Regions from separate parts of the Homo sapiens genome. Here all the other regions are linked to region 1. Evidence: promoter capture Hi-C in human tissues and cell types (Jung and others, 2019). All regions are on one chromosome and are shown on one strand. Each heading gives the region's core, a stretch centred on a gene start or on the middle of the fragment in contact. The rest is flanking DNA. Distances are from core to core; before and after follow the strand shown.

The links. Contacts are between HindIII fragments. The study calls those that stand out against the background at their distance.
Region 2: a contact is called between the fragment with the promoter of MRGPRF here and the fragment with the promoter of MYEOV in region 1, in 2 of the 25 tissues and cell types used here (IMR-90 fibroblasts and stomach).
Region 3: a contact is called between a fragment that was not itself captured here and the fragment with the promoter of MYEOV in region 1, in 1 of the 25 tissues and cell types used here (spleen).
Region 4: the fragment with the promoter of MRGPRD here is called in contact with the fragment with the promoter of MYEOV in region 1 in 2 of the 25 tissues and cell types used here (mesendoderm cells and thymus).

Annotation. Positions count from the first base shown.
Region 1 is chr11:69,292,477-69,295,404 of GRCh38, forward strand. MYEOV (myeloma overexpressed) reads left to right here and starts at 1,679. Exons shown (of 3, transcript NM_001293291.2): 1 at 1,679-2,100; 2 at 2,757-2,928. The coding sequence starts at 2,879. RefSeq lists an enhancer at 250-801. The HindIII fragment of the contact is 12,136 bases long and covers 1-2,928 here.
Region 2 is chr11:69,011,941-69,014,811 of GRCh38, forward strand. It overlaps MRGPRF (MAS related GPR family member F), which reads right to left and starts at 1,306. Exons shown (of 3, transcript NM_145015.5): 1 at 1,143-1,306. It overlaps MRGPRF-AS1 (MRGPRF antisense RNA 1), which reads left to right and starts at 414. Exons shown (of 6, transcript NR_120541.1): 1 at 414-608; 2 at 1,851-1,964; 3 at 2,191-2,376; 4 at 2,501-2,651. The HindIII fragment of the contact is 18,072 bases long and covers 1-2,871 here.
Region 3 is chr11:68,852,013-68,855,334 of GRCh38, forward strand. LOC124902700 (a long non-coding RNA gene) reads left to right here and starts at 1,354. Exons shown (of 3, transcript XR_007062752.1): 1 at 1,354-1,387. The HindIII fragment of the contact is 8,710 bases long and covers 1-3,322 here.
Region 4 is chr11:68,979,314-68,982,263 of GRCh38, forward strand. It overlaps MRGPRD (MAS related GPR family member D), which reads right to left and starts at 1,673. Exons shown (of 1, transcript NM_198923.2): 1 at 708-1,673. The coding sequence starts at 1,673. The coding sequence ends at 708. RefSeq lists an enhancer at 653-1,162. The HindIII fragment of the contact is 17,904 bases long and covers 1-2,950 here.

The DNA of each region.
Region 1 (2,928 bases), core at 429-2,928:
CAGGATCTGCCCTCAGCAAGTTGCTGAGTGCCTGCCCTGAGCAGCCGGTAGGTGGCGCTGATGGGCTGGTGGTTGGGTTGGGGGAGGCTCGCATAGGGTCTCTGGAGGTCCCAGTAGGGCACTGGGGAGACCTCCCCTGATTCCCTGGAGGCAGAGCAGAGCTCTTGTCTTTGCAGGAGCTGCAGATTCTGCCTTGGGTATCTTAGAAGCTTTGTACAGGCATCTCCAGCTCAGTGGGAACCAAATGCCATCCTATCTCCCCACCTCACTGGTGTCACCATCTTCCTGGGAGCTGTCTGGATAACCCTCTCCCTGGCCCTCACCTTTAATTTGTCCCTGAGTCCCATCAGGGTCACCCTCCATCCCACTGCCATCTTCCTGGGAGCTGTCTGGATAACCCTCTCCCTGGCCCTCACCTTTAATTTGTCCCTGAGTCCTATCAATCAGGGTCACCCTCCATCCCACCACCATCTCCCACCTGAGTGAGAATGGGAACCTCCTCTCCCACTCCCTCCAATTCCCCTCCACTACAGCTGGGGGAGGCTTCTAAAATGCCAAATATAGCCCAGTTTCTGCAACTTGCAGGGTCCCCAGCCCTCGGGAGAAAGTCCAAACCCCTGACAAAGCCTGTGAAGCCCCCTGAGGCCCTGTGGGTCTGGGGCTAGCTCTGGGCTGCAGCCCTGTCTCTGGTCATAGTCCAGCATCCACCACGGTCCAGGTGCACTGAGCTGCCGGCCCTCTCTCCCCTCCGCTGGCTCCTTCCTCCTGACTGCCCGTCTTTCCCTGGCCTCTCTATGCTTCCCGCTGGCATTGACGACAGTGTCCTGGAGAGCTGGGCAGGGAGGGCTGCCTTGGGTTCCTACTGTGTGCTCCACCTAGTGCTGGTCTTGGCCCTTAGCAAGTGCTCAGTACACCCGTGTGGAATTGGGCGGTGAGGGTAAAGGGAGGAGGAGGGAAGGGCCAAGAGCTCCCTGTGCTCAATGAAGAGAGGGACTTGAGCAAGTACTCATTTTTAGTACTTCCCAAGATGTGTACAAGAGGCCTGGGGCCAGCAGAACTCCTTGCCCCTGCCCATCCCCCTCCAGTCTATGGGGTCCACCCCCAGCTGCCCAGCTGTGAGGCCTCCATGGCTCAGCTCCTCATCTATTAAGTGAGGACAGCAGTCGTCCCCCTCACAGCGAGGCCACGTGGGTTACATAACTTTTTCTTAGGGTGCCTGGCCTGCAAGAAACCCCTAAGAATGTTCTATATTCCTAGGCCCACTGTTATTCTTAATATTACCCAGGAAAGGGTGGTGAAGCGAGTAAATAAATGAATAGGTGAATGAATAAATGAATGAATGAATGGCACCCTAGCCCCACTGTCTTCTGGGTGGCTTCAGGATCCTTGAGGAGGTTGGCCGTGTAGGTTCCCCTCAGGTAGGACCTAGGTGAGCTGGGGAGTCTTAACTCACCCAGGGCAGGCCTTAAGGTTGGGCACACCCATGTGTGGGCTCTGCCCTGGCCTTAACCGAGAGAGGGAAATGTTGACGGGGAAGAAAGCCCTGCCCACCAGGCAGCCCCACCCACCTGGGCTAGCCCCACTCACAAGCAGCCCCACCCACCTGGGTTAGTCCCACCCACCAGGCAGCTCCGCCTACCTTGGCTATCCCCCTCTGAGTTCTTGCCTTGATTCTCCTGTTACTGTCCCGCGAACCCACATCCCTACAAAGCAGGAAAGTATGCTTGGGAGAGGCCAAGTGAGTGGGGAATCAGCCCAAAGCCAGGCGTCCAGGGTCTCCCTCACCTGAAGCTGACTTTTTCCCCACCTTGGACAGAGGGCGGGAGATGCCATCCCCACTGAACCCAGTGCTTTCACCAGCCATATTAGCTCCCACTCACCCCCCGTCGTGGAAGCCTCGGCCGTCACACCTGCAGGGCCGGGGCGTGCATGGCCTCAGGGATGGCCTGTTCAGCTGCTGGGTGACTCGGGTCCAGGTGCCTCACCACCTGCTGAGCTCTGTGTGATTTCTGGACACTTCTGCTCGTTGCCTTTGGGCTCAGTGAAGAGTCTGGAGTTTATCTGGAGTGAGGTGGCCGGTTCTTGGTGGGATCTGAGCAGGTAAGAAGCAGGGTCTTTCTTATGTTTTAAGGAAAGCCCTGTGGCTGCTGGGTGGGGGACCAGCTGGAGGGGCAGGAGGGCAGCAGGTGACTCATTACAAGGCTGGGGCCATCATCCTGTGAGAGCTGGGCATGACCAGTGCAGGTCAGTGGGGTTGAGGGTACAGACCAGTGGGACCCACAGACGGCTCGGGAGTGACCAAGCCTCTGCTGAGCTGCCCAGGTCCCCTCTGGTGGACACCTCCTACCCGGAGCCCCCCAAGGTGGTGCCAAAGCTAGACCACCATACAGCCAGAGGCCTCCAGGCCCTACCCACGACAGCCCAGCTGGCTTCTGCCCAGCCACCGTCACACACAGAGGGCAGCCGTCCCCATGGTCCCTAGAGGCGGTTGAGGACCACTGTGCCTGGAGTCATCTGTGGCTATAAACCAGGAGGAGAAGGCTGCCCACCCCCTGCCCCAGAGATGGGGAGGCTGGGGCCACCCGGTGGATTTGGGCAGGTCCCAGCTTCCAGGATCATGAGGTGAAAACGTGAAGGGACCCTAGAGGCCATGGGGACCCAGGCACAGAGCGGCGGCCTCTCATCCTCCCCATGGTCAAGGAGGTCAGTGCCTTCCCGGGGTGGATTACGGATGGTAGTATCTTCCTTCTCCTCAGAGTCCATTCAGGAGCAGGAAAGTTCATCTCAGACCCTAAATCCAGCCACGTCATGCCACGCTTAACACCTCTAACAACTTCCCCTGGCACTTAGGACAGCGTCTGGCTCCTTCCCTCGGCTCATGGCCCTCAGAATCTGCGTCACATACACCCCAGCTCTCCCGATAGGTCT
Region 2 (2,871 bases), core at 56-2,555, 280 kb before region 1:
ATTATGTGGGTGTCCCTGTGCATTTGTCCTTGTCCTGCCAGGGACAACCTGAAAAGCGATTTCACGCATGCACAGAAAGATCTAGAAGCCAGCAGACCCCAGATGGGCCATATTAAAGGACATGTGTGTGACACGTGGATGGGGCGTGCGTGTCAGTACATGTGTATGTGTGTTCCTCTGGGTGGGATCTGGGCTGCTATGACAGAACTAGTTTCCACTGAAGCTGACCCAAAAAGCTGCCAGCACAGCTCACACCTGACCCTCCCCTCGGAGCAAGCCCAAGGGTGGCCTGGCCACCTGTCAGCCTCCTGCAGCCTTGCCCGCAGGAAGCTCCTCCTCTCCCTTCACTCCATCCCACCATGACCCAGCCCCGACGCCGCTGGGGCTGTCCCAGCCCCTCTCCTTAGCCGCTTGTGCCGCCATCAGAGGGGCCTGTCTCGCTCCCCCAGACACAGAGCCTCTGTTTTCCTCACTCCGGGTCTGGAGTCCCCTGCTTAACAGCTTGGATTGAAGAGGCTTGTCTGGGGGGACTGAGACCTTGCAGATCATTCCAGGAGCCGCCTCCATCCAAGGCCAACAGCTTCATCAGGCCGCAGGCCTGGGAGAAGGTGGGACTGCAGTTGCCCAACATCCTGTGGCTGCCCACACGGACACCCCATGTGCACCCCAGGGCTGAGAGCAGGGGGAGCCATCTCCCTGTGTGTGGGACACTGCCTGCTGGGTGTTCCGTTCCAGCCCCTCTAGAATGCATGCTTGAATGGCCAGTGAGGCTGGGGGAGGGACCGAGAGGGAGCCCTCACCCCCAGCAGCACAGAGCAGGAGCTGGACGGTGGGGCTGGGGGTGAGGCCAGCTGAGAGGGGTCAGGTCCTGCCACGGGAGGGGGACTTTTAAAGTTCCTCCATGGCCCTGGAACCCTGGAGCCTCAGGAGTGGCAGGGGAGCTTCTCCGGTGAGTGACAGCCTCTCTGGGGTCTCAGGGCTCCCTGCCTGGGGCCTTAGGATTTCTGGGAGCTGCCTGCCCCGACAGCGTCCACCTCTCTGCCCCTACAGTGCCCGCGTCATTTTCCTTCCCTGCCTGGCCCTCACCCTGCAGCCCCGGTTGTTGGAACACCCTCCCCTGGACCCTGGGCCCCTGGAGCTACCTGCAGCTGTCCTGATCCGCCGAGGCCTCCTTTTGTGGAGGGCTCTTCCTGTGACTCCCGCCTCCGGCCGGCGGACCCGCCGGGGCAGCAGGCCAGCGCCGAGCGCGGCCCGGAGCCTTGGAAAATAGGAGCTCAGAGTAGAGCCCTCTCCTGCTGGAAGAGATGGCTTTGGAAGCAGAACCCGCCCCAAACCCAATTCCTGGCCCGGCAGGAGGGGGAGGGGGAGGGGAGTAGGAGGAGGGGCTGAGCAGGGCTGAGCGGGGATGAGGCTTCAGGAAGGAATGCCCCGCTCAGGAGCCCCCCCCAGAGCCCCACCGGGAACTCATCTCTCCGCCTGGTGACGTCACGTTGGCCCGAGCACTGCAGCCCGAGTCCAGCTGTTCATCTCCCTCACATTCTGCTGCTCGGCAGGGCTGCCCAGGAGAGGGAGCACCGGCTGTACACTTGCCTGGCGTCTTTGGTCTGCCCCCAGTGGGCATTTCGGGGCAGGCTGGCCCAGGAGGGGCTAGTCCCCACCCCGTTGTTTTAATTTACTCAGGGGCTGATACAGAGCAGTGGGGGGCAGCAGGGCGAGGGCTCCATGGAGGGGCAGTGCAGAACTGGCAGAGGTGGTCAGCACCGCCCAAGCGGCACCCCTCCCCCTTCCCACCCCGGACTCGGCCTGGGCCCCCTGGGGGCTTATGGAACCAGGAATTCCCTTTTCCCCAGCCCTAATAGCAATCAGATGGCGCAAGTGGAAAATCACGGCGCTCGGCAAGCAAGCTGGAAATTGGCGGGCTGTGGTGCCTGGTGCCTGCGCTGCTCAGCGGGAGGATGAGTCAGGTCCCCCTTCCCCATTGAGCCCCTGGAGGCGGGCGGTGGGGGGGGGTCCTGGAACGCGTTCATGCCTGGGGCACTGAGCATTGGTAGGGGTGGGGGTGCAGAGTCGGGGGTGCGGGAGCCAGCAGGGTGGCCAGGAGGAGGGGGTGATGAGAAGGCTCCCCTCCTACCCTGGGCCAACTTTCTCAGGGTCCAGGAAGCCCGAGGGAATTCTGAACTTTCCCTGCAGGAGTGTAGTGCCCAGACTGGGAGAGATGTGCCTCTGTGGGCATCTTGAAGGGAAATGAGAAGCGGAGCTGCCCCTGCACCTGCGCTGGGAGCTGCCTGCCTCCTGCTTGTCCTGGCCATGTGCGAACCTCAGCGTGGAAGAGGGACTCTCGCACTGCTCCCTGCGCGGCTCAGCTGGCCTCCTGGGGTCCGTTTTTCAGGGATGGGGTGAGGAGGGACTCTGGGATCCTGGAGGCTCACGGGCCATGCCTGAGGCTGAGAGAGAGGCTGGAGGCAGCAGGCAGGGTGGTGACCCGTCCCCTCCTCTCCAGGGCAGCCAGCTGGGGCCCAGCTGGAACGCTTGTTTACATGGGGAGGCCGGGGGAGGCTGAATCCCGGCGAGTTCCAAGTGTAATTGCGTTTGGACACTTAAAAGGAATTGTGTGAAGTGGGCAGAGGCTCTGAAGTCCACCGCCTTATTTGGTATGGAAATCTGTTTCTCTCAAAATAAGCGAGAGGCGCTTGTAAACGGGAAGGTCGTCCTGGCCTGAGTTTGTGGAGTCCCCTTCCCGTGGGCTTGGTGTGTCCGGCTGCTCTGTTGCAGTACCGCAGACCAGGGGCTTATCGGAGCAGGCGTTTGTTTCCCATGGCTCCGGGGGCTGGAAGGCCAAGATCAAGGCCTCCACAGATTCAGCGTCTGGTG
Region 3 (3,322 bases), core at 185-2,684, 440 kb before region 1:
GTGGAGGGTTGGGGCTCTGCAGGCTTAGCTGCCTGGTGCCCCTCCATCTGGCCCTTCCCTTCCAGGCCCTCACCCCATTTCCATGTCTCCCACAGGAACCTCTAAACTGTCCCCATGTGTGCCCTTCTTCGCGGTCACCTTCTGTGCCCCAACATCTTTGAGGCAATCTGTGGCCTCCAGGCAGAACAGGCTTCAAAATTTGTCAAGCAAAGTGAAATGAAGGCTGAGACCTTTGATCAAAAACTATGAAGAATTTCAAGCTGAGGTGGGAAGATCGCTTGAAACCAGGAGTTTGAGACCAGCCTGGGCAACAAAGCCAGACCTTGTCTCTACCAAAAATAAAAAATTACCTGGTGGTGTGCCTGTAGTCCCAGCTACTTGAGAGGCTGAGGTAAGAGAATGGCTTCAGCTTGAGCCCAGGAGTTCGAGGCTGCAGTGAGCTATGATCGCACCACTGCACTCCAGCCTGGGTGACAGAGCTCTCGAGACTCAGTCTCCAAAATAAATAAATACATAAAATTGAAAAAAATTTTAAAAAACAAGAAAGGAATTTCAAGCCAGTGACTGCAGAGCATGAAACTAACCACGAAGCCCTGTTAAGTTCTCCCCTTGTGTGACTGTGCGAGTTGCATTTCCCGGAAGCTGGCCCTTCCTCTCAGGCAGGCCGGAAAGACCTCCTAGAGATCTGTGCCCAAACGACCTTTCCAACCTGGGCTCACAAACCTCACTGGGCTCTGTGCTCTCTCCACTGAAAACCTCACCCCACCTCCTGCCTCTGAGCATCTGTTCTCGCTGTTCCCTCTGCCCAGCGTGCCTTTCCACTCACTTCTTCTTGTTTTTGTGCACAGCCATGGATCAGGTGCCAGGAGAGGAGACGGAGGCAAAGCAGGGCCAGTCAGCTCTCCAGAGAAGACACTCTCAGAGGGCAGCTGCAGCCTTGCTCCACTGCAAGGCTCAAGCAGAAGCTTCCTCTGCTGCAAAATGGAGCAGCCATAAGAACCACGATGCAGGATCTGAGGTGCAACTCTGCTAAGCTCTCTGTCTTTTTTTTTTTTTTTTAGATGAAGTCTTGATCTCTTGCTCTGTCGCACAGACTGGAGTGCAGTGTTGAGATCTCGGCTCACTGCAACTCCGCCTCCCGGGTTCAAGCGATTCTCCTGCCTCAGCCTCCCAAGTAGCTGGATTACAGGTGGGCGCCACCACGTCCTGCTAATTTTTGTTGTTGTTTTGTTTTTTTTGTTTTGTTTTGTTTTGTTTTTTGAGATGGAGTTTTTGCTCTTGTTGCCCAGGCTGGAGTGCAATGGTGCGATCTTGGCTCACGGCCACCTCTGCCTCCCGGGTTCAAGTGATTCTTCTGCCTCAGCCTCCCGAGTAACTGGGATAACAGGTATGTATCACCATGCCTGGCTAATTTTGTATTTTTAGTAGAGAAGGGGTTTCTCCATGTTGGTCAGGCTGGTCTCGAACTCCCAACCTCAGGTGATCCACCCACCTTGGCCTCCTAAAGTGCTGGGATTACAGGTGTGAGCCACTGTGTCTGGCCATTTGTGTATTTTTAGTGGAGATGAGGTTTTGCCATTTTAGCTAAGCTGGTCTCGAACTCCTGACCTCAGGTGATCCACCCGCCTCGGCCTCCCAAAGTGCTGGGATTGCAGGTGTGAGCCACTGCGCCTGGCCCTGCTAAGCTCTCTTTTTTTTAATCTACTGAGATTTGACTCACATACCATAAAGTTCACTGTTTTCAAGTGTACAATTCAATCGATTTTGGTATATACACAGGGTTGTGCAACCACCACCACAATCTAATTTCCTAAACATTTTCCCCTAAACAAAACACTCAACCCATTAGCAGCCTTTCTCCCCATGTTCCCCACCCGGGGCAGCCACCAGTCCACTTTTTGTCAAATTCACATATGGATTTGCCTATTTTGCACATTTCATAGGAATGGGATCCTACAACATGTGGTCGTTGGTGACTGCCTTTTTTCACTGAGTATCATGTCTTCAGGGTTCACCAATGTTGTAGCCTGGGTCGGTGTTTCACTCCTTTGTATAGCTGAATAGTACTCTGTTTGTCCGGACAGACCACATTGGATGCGTCCATTCATGATAGGACAGATGCGCACAGTACAGCACTTTCAGTCTGCCTGGGAGGTGGGTGTGGGTGCCCGGACCTCCCACGCTGACCTTGATCCTGAAATATAACCCAATGGCTGTCTCCTTTCCCTTCTGGAAGATTCCCACTCAGCCTTCAAGGTCCACTCGGAGGTCACTTGCGTCCCCCCATTACCCCAAATAGACATAATGCCTTCCTCCGCTGTGCTTGCAGTGAGGCTTCTTCCTTGTCTAAGACCCACCCGTCTCTCCCCCCTCGCCGCTCCAGTCCGAAACTGCGATTGTCCTGTTTCTGGGGTCCTGGGCGTCTCCAACCCCCCAAAACGTTTGTGCATTGGAAAAATGGGGAATTGGCTGGGCGCTCATTGGCTGCCGGAGAAGCTAATTGTTTCCTTGAAGTCACAGGTTTCGGACGGAGGAAAGAAGAGTTGGGGTATTCTGGCGGTAGGGACCGGTGGGGAGGAGGAAGTGACCCTCCTCTAAGGCCCAGGGTCGGGGGAGGTGGGGAGGGAGCGGCCGACCGGCCGAATAGCGCTGCTTTCTTTGTTTTTCATGCAACATAATTCCATGGCCAGTCCAGGCGCTGCAGCCCCCTCCCCTGCCGGCCCCGGCGCCCGCGCAGGACCGCAGAGGGGCTGGGGGTCCAGGGCGCAGTCTAGTTCCAGGGCGCCCGCGCAGCCGCGGGTCCTTCCCTCTGGGAAGGAGCTGGCGGAGGCTAGGGAGGGGGCGTGCGGGTGTCCCCCGCCTTCCTCAGCTCCTCTAAGCGCCCATGGAGAGCCCCAGTTCCGTCCCAGGCTCTCCCTCGGCTCCTCTTTTTATTTATTTATTTATTTGTTTGTTTGTTTATTTATTTATGATGGAGTCTCGCTCTGTCGCCCAGGCTGGAGCACAATGGCATGATCTCGGCTCACTGCAACCTCTGCCTCCCCGGTTCAAGCGAATCTCCTGCCTCAGCCTCCTGAGTAGCTGGGATTACAGACGCTCGCCACTACACCCGGCTAATGTTTGTATTTTTAGTAGAGACGGGGTTTCACCATATTGGCCAGGCTGGTCTCGAACTCCTGACCTCGTGATCCGCCCGCCTCGGCTTCCCAAAGTGCTGGGATCCTCGGCTCCTCTTTTGCAGACGAGGAGGCGCAGGGGCGAGTGGGGAGGGCGTCCTCGGTGAGCGCGCGAATACCCTCCTGAGTCAGCTGGGTCGGCGGCG
Region 4 (2,950 bases), core at 423-2,922, 310 kb before region 1:
CCAGTGAAGCCAGGCAGAGGCTCTTCCCTTCCCAGTGCGGCCTGGAGGAAAGCGAACAGGCCTGCCCTGGGTGCGAGGGGTGACAGGGTAAGGCGACCTCATAGCAAATGCCAGGGGTCAAGGGCTGGCCAGGGGTCAGAGGGATGGTGGGGCAGAGTCTCATGGCCCACAGCCAGCGAGATCCGGGTCGGCGATGGCGACACCGTTTACTTGCCAGACTTCAGGCACACCTGGGGAAAGGTGCACGGGGGCACCACCTTGGTGGCCAGTTGATGCCACCCAAGGACCAGCATAGGGCCAAAGATCACCCGAGGTCACCTGCCTCCTCCACAAAGATGCCGTCTTAGGCAGAGAAGGTGGTTGGGAGAAAGCTTTCATATTCAAATGAGATTCCTGTTATCCACCCATAGATAACCAGCTTAAAGCAGGGTAGGGCTAAAAGCTAATATTTTCCCCCAACCAGATAATCTGCTATAAACAAATAAATTGCATCTTCCAGCGGGGTTGCATTGTGAGATCCAGGACACAGGTGTTGTGGGGAGTTTTGACATGCAGGGAAGTGACCCCCACATGCAGCTGCAAAGTCCTTGGGGCTCCCCCAAGAAGGCGGGCCAGACACTTGGCAGGGACGAGGTGGGAGGCAGCTCACGGCTCGGGAATCTCCAGGGCATGGGCTCGCACAGGTGGGAAGCACCTGTGGGCGGCTCTCAAGCCCCCATCTCATTGGTGCCCACGGTGGGCGTCTCCCCACCTTCCAGCTCGGGCTCCTCGCGAAGCGCCTGTTGGAGCACAGTCCCCAGGGACCTGGTGGGCAGCCTGTGGCTCCTCCGGCTGCCCACCAGGAAGTAGATGACGGGGTTGGCGCTGCTGCTTACGGACGAGGAGAGGCGTGACAAGCTGAAGCACAGGACCTGCATCTCGGGCGGCAGGCTCAACCAGTAGAGCACAAACCAGTAGATGCTCAGAGGCAGGGAACAGATGAGGAACACCAGGACAGAGGCCAGGACCACCACGAACAGCCGTGTGGGCTGCCGCCGCCACTGCTGGGAGCTCCTCCGCACCCAGACAAAGAGGGTCAGGCTGGACAGAGTCATCACTGGGGTTAAGACCCCCATGATGAGGGCGGCCTGGACCATGTCCACCCTGAAGCACCGATCTTCATTGAATTTCAAGAACTTGCTGCAGAAGGAAGAGGTCAACCCGTTCATCAGGAGACAGAGTGTCCACAGCAGGCCACACACCCAGGCTGACAGGTGCCTGGGCCGGTGACACTTGAACCAGATAGGGAAGAGGACAGAGAGACAGCGCTGGGTGCTGATGGCCGTCAGCAGGCTCAGGCCCACTGTGTAGGCAAAGTACATCAGTCTCTTCATCAGCTCGTGGACCTTGTCAGTGGTATTGACCAGGGGCTGGGTTTCCAGGCTGAGCGTGGAAGCCATGCTGAAGAGGAAGAGGAGGTCGGCTGCCGCCAGGTTGAGGATATAGATGCAGAAGGGGTTCCTGTGCATTCGAAAGCCCAGCAGCCAGATCACCATGCTGTTGCCTGCCATCCCGCACAGGCAGGTGAACATGGCCAGGGAGCTCAGCACCAGGTAGGCCGTGTGCACTGTGCTCCCTCTGGAATAGTTTAGGGCTGACTCCACGGTCCCACTGCTATTCAAAGTCTGGTTCATCCCTACGAGAGGAAGATGTACCAATGTGAAATTCTGTGTTGCTGGGACCACGGGGGACCCCTGGGTGCCCCTCGAATTTCCAGCTTCAGAGCTCTCCCCTCCAGGTTCTTTATGTAACAGACCATGACCGGGAGGCTTAACCTTCCCCCACTCCTGTGACTCACTCAGCCCAGATCTGCCTCCAGGGTCACCTTTATAGCTACAAAGCTGTTATAAATACCCTTTATCAGGTTAAAAAATTCTCTTCTATCTTGCTTTGAATTATTTTTTAAATCATGGAGAGGTATTGAATTTTATCAAATGCTTTTTCTACATCTATTATAGAAAAATCATTATTATCAATAGATGTAGAAAAACTATTTGATAGAAACATTTGAAATCATTTTTTTTTTCTCCTGTAATTGTCAAACCCTGTGAGTTAATTAAAAAAACAATAGACCTTAGGGCTGGGCGTGGTGGTGCATGCCTGTAACCCCAGCACTTTGGGGTTTGCTTGAGGCCAGGAGTTTGAGACCAGCCTGGGCCACATAGCAAGATCTCATCTCTACAATTTTTTTTTTTAATTAGCCAGGCATGGTGGCACACACCTGTGGTCCCACCTACTTGAGAGGCCAAGGCGGGAGGATCGCTTGAGCCTGGCACATTGAGGTTGTAGTGAGCCATGGTCCCGCCACTGCACCCCAGCCTGGAAGACAGAGCGAGATGCTGTCTCTTAAAAAAAAAAAAAAATTAGACCTCAGGGCAAAGTGTAGAATTAACTACACTCCTTAGTTTAAGACACACCATGAGCATCAGCCCATTAAAAACCCTCCATTTATTCAAGTTTCCTTCCCCATCCCATCTTAGCTGCCTTTTTCCTCCTGCCGCTTGCATCCATCCAACCTGTTTCACGCAAATCCTTGGACACCTCAATATCTTTCAAGATGGAGTGGTTGCCCATTGTGTTTTAAATTTACGTAAATGTTGTGATTTAGAATTAATGATGGGTTTTTTATTTTTCACTTGACAATATGTTTGTAGGATATATCCAGGTGGCTGTATGCAAAAGTTGTGGTTTAAAATGTCATCATGCACATTGATCTGTTATCCATTCCTTACTGTGGATCCTCAGCTTGCTTCAAAATTCCCATTATCACCAAAACACTGTGTTGGACATCCTCATGCATGTACCCATTGGACTTGACTCAATATTTTTCTGGGATACATTCTTGGAGGAGGATTGCTCGGTCATAGAACATATGCACATTTAGTCTCACTAAATATTGCCTGGTAATTCT